3 separate regions of the Homo sapiens genome follow, and regions 1 and 3 are each linked to region 2. The links are contacts of gene promoters, found by promoter capture Hi-C in blood cells and fetal thymus (Javierre and others, 2016). All regions are on one chromosome and are shown on one strand. Each heading gives the region's core, a stretch centred on a gene start or on the middle of the fragment in contact. The rest is flanking DNA. Distances are from core to core; before and after follow the strand shown. Region 1 overlaps GPD1L (glycerol-3-phosphate dehydrogenase 1 like). Region 2 holds the start of OSBPL10-AS1 (OSBPL10 antisense RNA 1). Region 3 overlaps GPD1L (glycerol-3-phosphate dehydrogenase 1 like).

The links. Contacts are between HindIII fragments. The CHiCAGO score rates a contact against its expected background, and 5 or more counts as called.
Region 1: a contact is called between a fragment that was not itself captured here and the fragment with the promoter of OSBPL10-AS1 in region 2, in 1 of 17 cell types (naive B cells). The highest score is 6.0, in naive B cells.
Region 3: a fragment that was not itself captured here is called in contact with the fragment with the promoter of OSBPL10-AS1 in region 2 in 1 of 17 cell types (naive B cells); the score reaches 5.2 in naive B cells.

The regions. Positions count from the first base shown.
Region 1 is chr3:32,125,993-32,128,722 of GRCh38, reverse strand. GPD1L (glycerol-3-phosphate dehydrogenase 1 like) reads right to left here. Exons shown (of 8, transcript NM_015141.4): 2 at 470-647. Among named protein-coding and RNA genes, the nearest start is that of GPD1L, 21 kb to the right of the region's middle. The HindIII fragment of the contact is 3,239 bases long and covers 1-2,730 here.
Region 2 is chr3:31,702,872-31,705,571 of GRCh38, reverse strand. It overlaps OSBPL10-AS1 (OSBPL10 antisense RNA 1), which reads right to left and starts at 1,359. Exons shown (of 5, transcript NR_049771.1): 1 at 1,333-1,359. The region is part of intron 6 of OSBPL10 (oxysterol binding protein like 10); the gene reads left to right. The HindIII fragment of the contact is 3,023 bases long and covers 907-2,700 here.
Region 3 is chr3:32,149,855-32,152,554 of GRCh38, reverse strand. The region is part of intron 5 of GPD1L (glycerol-3-phosphate dehydrogenase 1 like); the gene reads right to left. It also overlaps the pseudogene RPL21P137. Among named protein-coding and RNA genes, the nearest start is that of GPD1L, 45 kb to the right of the region's middle. The HindIII fragment of the contact is 5,964 bases long and covers 1-2,700 here.

The sequences.
Region 1 (2,730 bases), core at 125-2,624, 420 kb before region 2:
GTGACTGTATCTGGAAACAGTGTCTTAAAAGAGGTAATTAACTTAAGTCATTGGGGTGGGTCTTTATCCAATATGACTGCTATCTTTATAAGAGGAGATTATGACAGAGACAGGATTAGAGGGAAGACCATGTGAAAATACAGAAGATGCTATCTATAAGCCAAGGAGAGAGGCCTCAGAAGAAATTAACCCTATCAACACCCTGATCTCATGCTCAAAACCTCTAGAATTATAAAAGATAAATTTCTGTTGTTTAAGGTACCCAGTCTGGCACTTTGTTAAGGCATCCTTAGCAACATAATAGGAAACCCATTTTCAGAGTCAGGAAGACCAAAACCAACCAACCAATTGGTAGTGGAAAGGAACTGGGGAAAAGGGAAGCAGCTTTCCCAGTTCCAAAACCCAAGTGCTGCTCAGCCAAGCACAACTTGCAGAATGAACCAATGTACATTTCACCCCAAAGTCTTACCACATTTTCTGGCAGCTTGTGTCCAGGAAGATATTTTACATTTTCATGGTCATTATTTATGATGTCTGTCAGTTTTCTGCCATTCACTGTTTCTTCAAAGACCCACATCTTGACTGTGGAGGCAAATTTCTGAAGTTTCTTGACATTATTACCAATTATTTTTGCAACAGCTGAACCCCTACAAAAGAAATCGTGGAAAAGAAAAACATAAACTCACTTGGGCGGGAGAGAAAAAGCGTTTGATTAAAATTCAGAAGACTTGTGTTTTGATTCTGATTCAAACACTGAGCCTACTCAAGATGTGACGTGTATCAGCCCCAAGCCATTTGAAACTTAGTTGTTTTCACATGGAATACCACCGCCTGTGACTGGGAAAGCACCAGAATTTGGCTTAAGGTCAAAATGCACCACCCCTTGAAACTAGTAAGAATCAACCTATCTTGGAAGACAACGTCACAGGCAGAAGAGAAATCCACCCCAAAGCATGAAAATGACCCTAGAAGGTCTTGAAAGGATATTGAGATGTACCTGTGGTAAGATAAACTGTGTCTTGATGAACTGCAACAGGTGCAAAGCAGAATCACAAAGGAAAGACAAGAACCTGACTGGATTCCAGAAGAGGAGCAAAGGGAGAGCGCAGGGCCCAGTTGTTGAGTACTTTGCACTCCCTCCGCCCTGCAACCAAGCCGGCCTCTGGCCCCCAAGCTCCCTTTTCTCTGCATCTCTATTTAGCAAACATGTTCTAGTGACGGCTCAGTCTCCCACAGGCTTTCCTACAGGGGACAAGAATGACCCTGATTTGTTAACATCTGTCCTCCCGACAGCAGTGCAGGTCTGCACGTGGTTGCCGCAGCAGAGGAGGTTGGACCAGGCACCTGTGTCCATCTCACAGAAGCTGCTGATGGGGCCATGGTGGGCACTTGATCCTAGCTGAGCCTGTCAGCTTTCCCCTCTGGACTTTCAACTGAGAAACAGTTTGTTTCTTAGATGACCTTCCTGGCGTGAGGAGCAAATGAGAGAACGCAGTAAAGAGCATCTTGCAAATTCATGTGTTAGGGCAGTTGCTACTTTTTCTCACAATTATTCTCAAGACAAATTGATGAGATGGAGTAGGGGGTGACAACAAAAGGCGGGGGCGGCCAAGTGGATGCAGAACATGTTGGAGACATTTATTTTCATCCCTGGATGAATCTGTTATTCTAACCCAAATATAATACATCCCAGCATATAAACCTGTATGCTTTAACAACCATAAAATTTCAAGTAATTCTAACAGATTATAAATATTGTCCCTTTCCTGACATAGAAGGGATAAACTGAACCAGTGGTTCTCAACTTTGGCTGCACACAGAGTTACCCGGGAGATTTAAAAATCCTGAGTCCCAGACCACACCCCAGGCCAACGGAACTGGCACTTCTGTGGTGGGATCAGGCATCTGTACTTTTTAAAGCTCCCTGATGACTTGATGTGCAGCCAGGGCTGAGAGCCACTGCTCTGCACAATGATTAGAATTCTGATGCCCTCCTCCCTCACAAAAGAATAGCTGTAGATATCAAGGCTATGCAGCTGTACCTGTGAAATTCTTATTCTATGCCAGCAGGACAGGTTATTAGAAAAATACCCATTAATCTAATTCTCCTACTGACACTTTGTAGAAGGGAGGCCAGGAATCTCCCACCATCACTACCACCTTTATTCTAATCTTGGAAACAGCTGCTCACGTACTCACAGGAAGATAAAGGCTGTGGTTCACAGTGTTCCCTGGCATCAAGTAACTTTCACAAGGTCATAGAGAACAAGTATGGTTCTGGGGGACTGAGCATCAACTGACGAGGGACTATGAGACACCAGGAATCTAAGTCTAGTAAACCAAGTGGAAAAATAAATCAGAACCAGGAATCCCTCCCCATGATCTTACTGGAATACACTTGCTTTCCCCTTTACAGCTGCCTCTTGGGGAAGCCAAACATTTGCAACCAGAAGCAAACCTGTAGTATCTGCTGCAATGAGTTGGGAATATTTATTTATTTATGTATTTATTTATTTATTTAATTTATTGATACAGGATCTCACTCTGTCACCCAGGCTGGAGTGCAGTGGCACAGTCACAATTCACTGCAGCCTCGACCTCCTGGGCTCAGGTGATCCTTCCAACTCAGCCTCCTGAGTGGCTGGGACTACAGGCACATGCCACCACACCTGCCTAGAGTTAGGAAAATTTAAACAAACATTGGTACCATTAAGAACTAAGCCCTCCAGA
Region 2 (2,700 bases), core at 110-2,609:
CTTTAAAACTCCATCAAGACCTGCTTCTTCAAACCCTCCATTCCTTGCAGTGCCTGTCTATGTGGGTGCTTTGTGGTTGCCAGTAGATTGGTATTTACATTGCCATGGACCTCTTTCAGACAGAGTTGACCTGCTGACTACTGCTGCCTTTCCATCTATGTACCCCCAAGTTGGACCGCGATGGGGGTGGGGGGGGGGGTCTTCTCTTTGTGCAGATGGACTGAGCTGCAGTGTGGGTGGATTGAAAGTGTCCTCTAAGATGTTTACTGTCAACATGGTGTATGAAACCAGCTTAACTCTGATATTTACTTGAGGCTGGGTAGGAGAATTGTTTACAAATCACATTGGGAGAGAAAGGGCAAGTTCTCAGAGGCTGTGGGAGAGAAAACAGTCCTAGGTCCTTGTTTAAGGTTAGGGCATGGCTTGCTCAGGATTTGTGCCACCAAGGGGCAGTGTGCCAGGCTCCCATGGCCGTCCTTCTGTGGGCGGGACTTCAGGGCCACCAGTCATCCCGGATGACTCAGCTTCTGGGGCACCTGCACCAGCCTTAATTTCCTCTGCTGGAGCCACTGTCTTTGAGAGGAATTGTCAGACACAGAGGGCATGTGCTGTTGATTTACAGTGGGAAAGGATGGAGGGGTTTGTTTTCACATTTATGTGTGTACTCCGTATCATGCGGCTGGATCTTGTGGAAGACTTTCTGGCTACTAGAAGTCAGGGACAAGCTGGGTCTAATTTTCGAGTAAGGCAGACAGCTGGAGGAGGTGTGGTCCCCGAAGGTCTATAAACACATCACAGTGAGTGTAGCAGTGAGTGGGAAAGATGAGGATTTCCCCTGCAATGGCTTGTGAGCAAATAGGAAATCACAGCTTTAGAAGAATGAATCATTCTTTGCTTCATGAAGCTTATGGCAGCCTCAGTGGAGCAATTGATTTAGTATGCAGTCCATTCTTGGTGAGAACAGCTAATTTCAAGCAGAAAATAATTGCCCGCAAAATGGAGCTACTTCTCCTGTTGAGATGTTTAAGGACTTTGCAGCCCACTCCACCTGTTGGGTACACCATGGTGGTTGGATTTCACTTGGTTTTGATTGTCCTTTTTCTTCCCAAAGCAGAATGCCCAGGCACTACCCTCTCCTCCCCCAGCTGGTGCTGGCATGAGAGGAATTCTGCTAATACAGATTACTGCCCACCGGGTCACTGCAGAGGAAGTTGCAGCTATAGCACCTTTGCCATTGGGAGGGATTTGTGTCTGAGCTCTCTGACTTCCGTAGCGTAGACTGGAAATGGAAGCTCACAGGGAGCTGAGACAGCCACCCACTTTCAAACTGACCTGAAATCCAGAAGAGGCAAAAGGGAGGAGAGCCAGGAGGACAGGCCAGTAGAAGGGAGGCCCTGCTAATCTCAGCATTAGCCATTCAGACTCATGGCAGCGGTGGCCTTGGCACCAGGAGCAGTCACGCAGCAGCACGGGGTGTCATGAGGTGGAGCTGGAGGAGACCCCCAGGGCCACTGGCTGTAAGTGCTGGGCTCCTGTGTGCTTCTACCCCTAACTTCCCAGTGTAGAATCAGGGTAGCTCACAGCTCAGAGACTTCCCTCTCTGGCTCTTCCTCTCAGGGTTAGCATAGGTAAGGATTCCTCAATTATTTCAGCATAATCTAGCAAAGCAACTTGCCAATGACGTCAGATAATACCCATTATGAGGTGGCTAGAGAACTGGGCACATAATAAAAGAAAACTCAGCTTTTGGCTGGGGGAATATCCTGTGGGCTTCACTGAGATCTTCCCAACCATCTCTTTAGAATTGGGGTTATTTAGAGCTGATTGAGAACACCTTAGGAGTATGTCTGTGGAAAACGTCTATTTACGTTGAAGTTTTAAAAATGCCTACCCCAGGAGGGAAGGAACACCGTTATTACCTCTCTTTGGAATGTTGGAAAGGAATGGTCCGTGTGGGTATGTAAGGCCAGACAATTTTAAACACCTTGACCACTAAAATAACCTTTGTATGTTAGAAGTGCCTGTAGATATAAGATGATTCTGTCTAATGAGGTTAGTAAATTGTTCGTTTTTTGCATGGACATTTGGACAAGTCTGTATCCTTTCATGTTTAACATCTTTGAGCTTCTGAATTTCTGTATATTATGTCTGACCTGTTATTGATAATTGGAAAGAAATGTATAATGTTCTGTGCAGAGTGCTTTTGCTTATATGTAAGCAAGCATCATAAGAACATAGGTAAATGTGGAGTGTGGAATGTGGATACTTCTTTCAATAGAATTCTGAGGGCAAGTTAACCTTGTAACCAGAGTCCTTAATACTTGGATACTGGAAAATTTTATGTGCAATAATCCCCTTGCCCAGTTTATTAAGTTGCCTGTTTTCTATGTAATGTGAAAAATTGGAATTGAGTGATTGAATTAATAAACTTGCATCGAGGAAAGCAGGGTATGTTGGCCAGTGTGAATCCCAGTAGTATCATAAAGTTTCAGTTTTGCCTTAAATTTTCATTTGTTGTCTTCCTCCCTAAATTAATGCCAATTCTCAGCATTTTCTTATACCTGCTAGAGTGATCCTAATTGATTTGGGTAGAAATAGTCTTAGAGCACGTTTTTCCATAAATAATTTTAGTCCCTGGATAATCCAACTTTTACTTATAAACAGAAAAATTTATATTAGATATGAAGTGGCCTGGATTGT
Region 3 (2,700 bases), core at 27-2,526, 450 kb before region 2:
CATTCCTCTGTTGCATGAGGGTCAGCGCTCCTCCCCTCCGGCAGCATTCAAGGTGCCACTTGGAACAGACCGTGCCCTCATGAGACACCAGAACTGCTGGTGCCCGATACTGGATTTTCCAGCCTCCAGAACTGTATGAGCCAATACATTTCTGTTCATTATAAATCACCCAGTCTCAAGTGTTCTGTTATAGCAGCACAAAATGGGCTAAGCACCAAGTGAGCTGGAAGAAGCCTGGATCCCTGCGAATTCTATAGAATAGAATTGTCATATACATTCTGGATTTTACATAAGAAAGAAAGAAACGTCTACCTTGTTCAGCCAGTACAGTTTGAGCATTCCTAATCTGAAAATCCAAAATCCAAAATGCTCCAAAATCTGAGACTTCTGGAGCACCAACATCATGCTCAAAGGAAATAGTCATTGGAGCATTTTGTATTTTCAAATAGGGATGATGAACTGGTAAGTATAATGCAAATATTCCAAAAAAGAAAAAATCCAAAATCCAAAACACTTCTGGTCACAAGTATTTTAGATAAGAGATACTCAACCTGTATTATTTTGGGTCTCTGTTAATGAAACTCAATCCTGATAAAGAATCTATTAAAAATGATAGCCTTCTGGCCAGAATCGCCATCTTCCAGTAATTTACCAAAATGATGAATACAAAAGGGAAAGAGGAGAGAAGTACCTGACATATGTTCTCCAGGCCTTTTAGAAAGCATGAAGTTGCTCCTTTGGCCACATATATGTGAATCTATCAGAAAGGTGATATTGGCAGGGTGTGGTGGCTCAGGTCTATAATCCTAGCACGTTGGGAGGCCAAGGCTGATGGATCACTTGAGTCCAGGAGTTTGAGATCAGACTGGGCAACATGGTGAAACTCTGTCTCCACAAAAAATACAAAAATTAGCAGGCATGGTGGCAAGCACCTATAGTCCCAGTTACTCAGAAGGCTGAGGCGGGAGGATCACTTGAGCCCAGGAGGCAGAGGTTGCACTGAGCTGAGATTGTGCCACTGCACTCCAGCCTGGGCAACAGAGTGAGACCCTGTCTCAAAAAAAATAAAAAATAAATACATAAGCTAAAAAACCTTTTTTTAAAAAAAGATGATATTGTAGACATCAGGGGAATGGTCACTGTTCAAAAAGGAATGCCCCACAAGTGTCACCATGGCTAAACTGGAAGAGTCTACAATGTTACCCAGCATGCTGCTGGCATTGTGGTAAACAAGTTAAGGGCAAGATTCTTGCCAAGAATTAATGGGTGTATGGAGCATATTAAGCTAAGAGCTGAGATAGCTTCCTGAAACACATGAAGGAAAATGATCAGAAAAAGAAGGAAGCCAAAGAGAAAGGTACCTGGATTAGACTGAAGTACCAGCCTGCTCCACCCAGAGAAGCGCACTTTGTGGGAACCAGTGGGAAGGAGCCTGAGCTGCTGGGACTTATTCTCTATGAATTCATGCATAATAGGTGTGAAAAATAGGCTGGGTGTGATGGCTCACGCATGTAACCCCAGCACTTTGGGAAGCTGAGGCAGGCGGATCACTTGAGGCCAGGAGTTCGAGTAGCTGGGACTACAGGCACAAGCCACCACGTCTGACTAATTTTGTTTATTTTTTGTAGAGATGCGGGGGGTCTCACTGTGTTGTCCAGGCTGGTCTTGAACTCGTGGACTCAAGCAGTCTTCCCACCTCGGCCTCCCAAAGTGCTGGGATTACAAGGATGACCCACGACGTCCAGCCATTGATGAGTTTCACTTTTTTAACATTAATCATCTTTAGTAATATTCTCCATAGTAGCCAATTACAAAACGTACATTACAGATGTAATACATCTGTTGGCCAGCTACAGCCTGGCCAACATGGCAAAACCCTATCTCTACTAAAAATACAAAAATTAACTGGGTGTGGTGGAATGCACCTGTAATCCCAGCTACTTGGGAGGCTGAGGCATGAGAATTCCTTGAACCTGGAAGGCAGAGGTTGCAGTAAGCTGAGATCACACCACTGCACTCCAGCCTGGGCAAGACTCTGTCTCAAAAAAAAAAAAAAGTTGTTAAGAAAAAAAAGACCACTAGACTATTTAAAAACACAGAAAACAATAACATAAATCAGGCGCTGTGGTGCATACCTATAATCCCAGCTACTTGGGAGGCTGAGGCAGGAAAACAGCTTGAGCCAAGGAACACAAGACCTCTCTCAGAGGGGAAAAAAAAGATAACATAGATTAAACAATATACTTATGATTTTTGTACTTTTCTATATGAAGTACCTCTTAAAATTTATATTAAAACAAACAAAAAATACACCTCCAATCAAAGAAGCCAGACACAAAAGAGTGCATACTGTACAGTTCCACTTATAAAAATCCTAGAAAATGCAAACGATGGCATATAAAAGCAGATCAGCTGACTGCCCAACTGGAGGCTGGGGTGATGAGGAACCTCAAAGGGACATGTGGAGTTGTTTGGGGATAATGGAAATGTTGTGTACTTTGGTAGTGGTTTTCGCAAGTGCATGCACACAACTCTCAAAACCCATGGTATTATAAACTCTAAATAGATGCAGTTTGATTACATGAATTACATTTTTTTTTTTTTTTGAGACGGAGTCTCACTCTGTCGCCCAGGCTGGAGTGCAGTGGCACGATCTTGGCTCACTGCAGCCTCTGCCTCCCAGATTCAAGTGATTCTCGT